Regions from separate parts of the Homo sapiens genome. Here region 2 is linked to region 1. The links are contacts of gene promoters, found by promoter capture Hi-C in human tissues and cell types (Jung and others, 2019). All regions are on one chromosome and are shown on one strand. The core of a region is centred on a gene start or on the middle of the fragment in contact, and the rest is flanking DNA. Distances in the headings are between cores, read along the strand shown. Region 1 holds the start of CHD4 (chromodomain helicase DNA binding protein 4). Region 2 overlaps NCAPD2 (non-SMC condensin I complex subunit D2).

Region 1 (2,988 bases), core at 211-2,710:
GCTTGGTATTTTGGTTGGTTGGTGTTCCTCAAAACTTAGGAGCTGGAGGTAAGCATCTGGAAAATACCTAGATTTTGGTGGGACTGGGTGGGGCCCTAGGTGGGCTCCCAGCCCCCGAGTGTCTGGAAATGATGGTATGAGGGAAGCTGGGGTCCCAGACATCAGGAGGCTTTTTGCCAGGATACTACTTTGGCCCAGAAAGGGATTAAGGTGTGTGCAAGTGGGGGCGGGGACAAGGAAGCGTGGGTAGCCTGCCTGGCCCTCCCTGCTCTGGGTGTTAGAATAGACTGACAGCGCCTGGAGATGGGGGTGGGAAGAATATGAATATTATGGGATGCCTGGCTCGAAGGGTATAGGGGTGGTAGAGTGGAGATGAAGCATTATGGGATGTGACACTGGGTTGTGTTGGGAGTATTATGGTATGTTTGGTTGACCACGGGCTCCTTGCAATTATTATGGGATGTCAGGATGTGGGTAGGAGAGTAAAATTATTATGGGATAGCTTTCCAGTGTTAGAGGAAAAGAGATTAGATGTCCATCTGTGGGGCGACAGTAGGGCTGTTGATCATTATGGGTTATCTTTTTGATAGAGGAGGGGTACTTACTATAGGCTGTGGAGCTAGAAGAGGGAAGGCTGGGGGTGATGTGAGCCTCTAGACCCTGGCCTGCAGGGACTGAGGGCAGCTCTAGGGGGTTAGTTATTATGGGATGTCAGTATAGAAAGTGGGAGACTGATTATTACGGGATGTGTGTGGGAGGAGGCCGAGTGTCCGTTGTTGTAGTATGGGGGGGGGTGAGTTTCTGACTATTATGGGATATCAAACTGGGGGTGGATGAAGGATGGTTATTATGGGATGTCTGTGGGGGATGGGGCTGAATATTATGGGATATGAGGCATAAGTGCTGCGAGGGGTGCTTATTATGGGATGGCCATGGGGAGGGAGGGGTGATGAATTATTATGGGATGTTAGCATTAGGTCCAAGAGTGAAGAAGAAGTTGGCAAAGGATGTCTATTATGGGATGTCTAAGAGGGTTAGTTGCAAAAGGTCTGCAATATTTTGAGATGTCAGCAGTCTCTGGCATATGTGTATGAAATGTGGGGGGGCAGGGTGTGTGTGTGTTGTGTGTGTGTGTGTGTGTGTGTGTGTGTGTGTGTGTGTGTGTGTTGGGGGGGGGGGTGTCCGTGTGTATTATGGGATGGCCAGGAGGTGGGCGGTTGCCCAGGTGACGCGCGCGCGCCCGCTGCGAAGGGGGCGTGGCCAGTGGTTGCCTGAGCGACGAGGGGGCGGGGGTTGCCCGGGAGACCTGGGGAGGAGGGTGGCGGTAGTGGAAGGGGGGGGTTGGAGTTGGTTGAGGTTATTATGGGCTGTCCGTGGGGGGGCGGGGCCTGTGCGGTGGGATTTCCCGGCCGGTGTTTCAGGCCCTTTAAGAGGCGACGCTGGAGCCGGAGCCATTTTCCCCCCTTCGGCCGCGGCGAGGAGGAGCCGGAGCGGGAGTGACACCGAGCCGGACCCAGCGCGACCTGCGGCGGCTCCGGGGTGAGGAGAGCGCGGGGTTCCCAAAGAGACGCCCCTCACGGCCCTACCAGCCCCGAGGGTCATCCCGTCACCCGCCCCTTCCTCAGGCGTCTCCGGACCCGCGGACCGCCCCTTGCCCAGAGGAGCCGACCCTTCCTTTCCTGGCCCTGCAGGGCGCCCGGCCTCCTCCCCAGCCCCCGCCCTAACCCTGCCGGAGTCTTGCTCCCCGCGACCCCCCGCCTCCGGCTTGGTCTCCCACAATGCCCGGCGCCCACCCCCTCGCCCTTTGATCACTTGCCCCCCGGGACACGTGGCCCGGCCCCCTTCCCGGTGGGACGCTTTCGCCCCCCGCGTCCCTGCCTCCGGCCCCCCGCAGCGCCCGAGCCTCCACGCCCCCTCGTCCCCGCAGCTCTTGAGGAGAACCTGAGTTGTCCCAGAGGACAGCCTTTGGAGAGCTGCCCTGTCTGGGGACTGGCCCCTCCCCGGGCGCAGGGAGGCGCCCCCCCACCCCCAAGTGACCTTGTGTCCCCGAGCGCCTCGCCGCCTGCGGCCTCCCCTGGCCCCCCCGCGCCGCTGCCACTCGGACCCCCTCCCCCGTCACACCCCGCTCGGTCCAGCCCCGCGTCTCCCCTCCCCGCGCTTGCACCAGCCTGCCCTCGGAGGCGTCGCTCCCTCGCTCCGTGGGGGCGCCTGCCGGGGAGCCGGCTTCCGGGCTGCCCCCGAGGAGTGTGGAACTAAGTTCAGCCTGAGCGGTTCGGGTGCCCTGCTAGGGTGGCTGGGGTGGGGGGCGGAAAGAGCGGGTGGGTGTGGGGGAGGGGGACAGTGCGCGTCACTGACTGTTCTGTGTTTCTCCCCCCTCCCCCGCACAGTGACTCGGGCCAGTGTAGAGGTCCTCAGGCCGCCGGCAGGAGCAGCTGGGCCAATTCCCTGGCCGGGAGCGGAAGGGGATGGCGTCGGGCCTGGGCTCCCCGTCCCCCTGCTCGGCGGGCAGTGAGGAGGAGGATATGGATGCACTTTTGAACAACAGCCTGCCCCCACCCCACCCAGGTAACATCTTCCCCAAGGGCCCATGGCGGGAAGGAGACATCTGGGGCTCTCCCGAGTGACTCCTCTGGTGAGGCAGGGCTGTGTTGCTCCGCTGTCTCTGTGCAGAGCCGGAGGTGGAGGGTATCCGAAGGGAGTGGTTCCCTTCTGCGGAGCTCTGGTGTGAGGGGGGTGGAAGCCATGTGCCTCCTGGGCACGGAGATGCCAGCTTGCTGCACTCTGTCTTGAGGAATGCTCTGCAGTTCCCAGTTGAGGGAGCTCTCTGGGCTGGCAGGCATTACCTGGTATGTGGGTCCTCGGAGGAATGCAGGTAGCTGGGACCCCTGGAGGCTTGTGGTGGTGGTGGTGGAGGGGGGCGTTGAGGATTCTGTTTGAAAGACCAGCCGGGCATCTGTGCTAGTAGGATCCTGTGGTTGCTGCTGTGGA
Region 2 (3,087 bases), core at 437-2,936, 79 kb after region 1:
TGGAAAAGACAAAGTGATGGCAACAGTAAAAAGATCAGGGGTTGTGGGGAGAGAGGGATAAATAGGTGGAGTGCAGGGGATTTGTAAGGCAGTGAAACTCTTCTGTATGATACTGCAATGGTGGGTACATGTCATTACGTGCAGTGAACTCCAAGGTAAACCATGACTTTAGGAGATGATGTGTAAGTGTAGGTTCAGCTGTAACAAATGTGCCACCCTGGTGCAGGATGTTGAAGGTGGGGAAGGCTGTGATGTGTAGGGGCAAGGGGTAGAAGGGAACTCCCTGTACTTTCTGCTCAATTTTGCTTTGAACCTAAAACTGCTCTGAAAAATAAAAACTATTAAAAACAAACAAACAAGAATTGGATGAGATGCTGCTTTGGTTGTGTTTTTGGAGTAATAAAAAAAGAACTGGAGACAAAGATCTGGTCTTAGGTCACTCTGGCAATTTGGTTGCAACCCAGCTGGGGATAAGGAGGACGGGAAGGTGACTGCAAGAGCCGTATGCTGCCCAGGGCCGGCAGATGTCTTAGCCAGCCCAGAACCCAACAGGCATTGAAGTGTCCTGTGCTGCTCACCTTGCCCTCAGGCTTGGCCCCACGTCGCAGCTTGCCTACAACTGACAAAAAAGCACTGAAGATGGACTCATCTGACAGTTTGTCTCCAAAACAGTCAAAATTGTCAAGCATCTTACGGAGGCCTCGCTCTGTGAGGGGCAGCTGTGACACACAGTAGGCCAGGTCTCGCTGCTGCCGCTCAGTTCTGCAGATAGGAAGGGCTTTGTGAGGAACTGGGAGATCCAGCTAGTAAAGGCTCAACCTTCCCCATCAGCCTCCCCAGTCCCAGGGATGCCACAGTGGGGGCATTGAAGGGGTGAGGGATGGGCCTTTCTCCCCTGCAGGGCCCCGCTCAGCACAAAGAACCCTCAGGGAGGGCAGCATACCGGGATGTGCGGAACCGCTGACACAGCTTTTCCACCAGGCTCTCTGTCTGCTTGTCCTTGGTGATGTAGGAGAGGAGCTGTCTGCAGGAAGGGGAGATGAGGATGTTCGATGGCCCAGGGCCAGCTCTGCCATCCACTAAGACCAACCCTGGACCCTCCCCCAGCACTCGTCTTCTCTGATGTTCTCTGCCACGGCCCCTGTCTGCCTCACCACTCCCCTTGCCCTGTCCCATTCAGCAGAGAGGGACCCCACCCCGCCCCCGGCTCAGGAATTTTCACTGTGAATGGAAATTAACAGGAGCAGCTGCTAGGGAGTGAGTGCTACTGTATGTCTGCCACCATGTTAGGAACTTTATCGTATTTAATATTTTCAAGAACTAAGGGTTAAGTATCATCAGCCTCAAAAGAAGAGGAAATAGGCACAAAGAGAGGCTAAGTTATTGCCGAAGGCTGTACAGCTAAAGAGTAGCCGAGGTGGAATTCAAATACAGGTGTGTCTGATTCCTAAGCCCGTGCTATGTGGAAAATGTGCCCCAGGGCCCGGGGAGCAATACTTCATGATGGTGTGGAAAGGCTCTTCCTCCACCCCCAGCTCGGGGTCTGACAGGCGGCTGATGATATCTGGAAGGAGATTATAGATTGCGTTGCCCTGTAAGACAGAGAGAGCCATGTTAAGGAGATGAGGTGACCTACAGATTCCCTCTGCAGCCAGCCCTCAGTGCCTCTCTGCCTCTCACCTTGTGGGAGAGCTCATTGAAGAAGTTCTTGGCCAGGGCAGCAATCTGAGGCTCGGGGTCGATGAGCAGCACCGCCATCTCGCTGACCTGCCCCTTCACCTTCACCATGTCCTTGAGGATCAGGTGGGTCATCACCAGCCCCGCTGTTTTCCGCACTTGCTGAGCAGGGTCCCGGAGACTAGGAATGGAATTGCGGGTCATGGGGACCGAGACCTCCGGGCTACACCCTAACACTGGTAGAAAAGGCCCTCAGCAGGAATCAATTATCCCATGCTCTGCCACTCCAGAAGCAGTCAGAAAGCTGTCTAGAGTTGAAAGCTGGAGTGGGGGAAAGAGGTGAAGCTTCTAACCAGAAGTGTCAGTCCCACTGGGGTGACTCTTAGCCAGGGGCCTGTACAGGTCAAGTATCAAGCAGATGTTCGCGGTGATGCCAAAGCCTAGGGGAAGAGCCCTGGTGATTCTCACACTGACTCTCAACAGACTCCGGGGCTCCTGGGAACTGCCACCACGTTGTGAGGGGTCTCTTACCGAGCATACAGATGAGGAGTCCAGGGGTCCACCAGATTGGGAAAGCGGATGGCCAGATCCCCAGTGGCAACCATGAGGTTAGACCGGACAATGGGAAGTGGAGACTTTTCCAGCATGGTGAACAGAAGACGAAGCTGGGAGTCGCAGAAAGTGGCACTAAGAGCAAGAAGAGGATCATTAGGGAAGCCATTTCATCCCCATCTTCCTTGAGAAGGGGGTACCAACCCCACGGCCTACCTGATCATGCAGAACTTGCCAAGGGCAAGTGAAGCAGCTGCAGAGAGGTCTGGGTTGCTATAGAGGCCTGGGTTGTTACAGACTTTAAGCAAGAGTGGAACAAAGGCAGCCAGTGTCTGTTTGCCTGTTGGAAGAGTAACTGCAGGTTTGGGACAGGTTATCTTAATTGGGAAGAAACTGCTGAGTGCAGCCATTTTTCTTACCATCCAACAGTTCCATCTCGCAGATGCCACGGATTAGTTCTGCCTCTGTGTCATCTGCTGTTGCCCCAACCAGCCCCAGCTCCTCCTCCATGGTGGTCTCAGAGCTCGTATTCTAAAGGGAATGAAATTGGGGATCATGGATAAGCAGAGACAACATTTTTGATTCCAGCCCATACTTTGTTTTGCATGAACAAAGTGAGGAAGGGCAAATTCTACAAAAACATTTAGAGAATTGTCAAATGTGTCTGTAAAGAGAAAGGATTCCTGAATTAAGCAGGGGAACAATGAGGTCCCCATTTGTTTTAAGTTGCCAAAGCGTGTTTCTGCACCTCTTCCTCATGGAAGACATCGTTTCCTATATATGGTAAACAGATGGATCACGCCAGACAATGGTTCAAAGTCACAGAGGTCAGACTTTTCTCCAGCGCTGCAAGGCTCT

Evidence for each region. The method cuts DNA at HindIII sites, captures the fragments that hold promoters and counts their contacts. A contact is called where the count stands out against the background at its distance.
Region 2: a fragment that was not itself captured here is called in contact with the fragment with the promoter of CHD4 in region 1 in 2 of the 25 tissues and cell types used here (mesendoderm cells and thymus).

Annotation. Positions count from the first base shown.
Region 1 is chr12:6,605,851-6,608,838 of GRCh38, reverse strand. CHD4 (chromodomain helicase DNA binding protein 4) reads left to right here and starts at 1,460. Exons shown (of 40, transcript NM_001273.5): 1 at 1,460-1,539; 2 at 2,388-2,565. The coding sequence starts at 2,466. LOC124902867 (a long non-coding RNA gene) reads right to left here and starts at 2,953. Exons shown (of 2, transcript XR_007063193.1): 1 at 2,844-2,953. RefSeq lists enhancers at 840-989, 2,730-2,889 and silencers at 1,580-1,679, 2,090-2,149, 2,330-2,379. The HindIII fragment of the contact is 15,757 bases long and covers 1-2,988 here.
Region 2 is chr12:6,527,450-6,530,536 of GRCh38, reverse strand. NCAPD2 (non-SMC condensin I complex subunit D2) reads right to left here. Exons shown (of 32, transcript NM_014865.4): 23 at 2,649-2,760; 24 at 2,446-2,569; 25 at 2,209-2,364; 26 at 1,681-1,858; 27 at 1,498-1,592; 28 at 944-1,024; 29 at 579-762. Among named protein-coding and RNA genes, the nearest start is that of GAPDH-DT, 5.4 kb to the left of the region's middle. The HindIII fragment of the contact is 4,988 bases long and covers 1-3,087 here.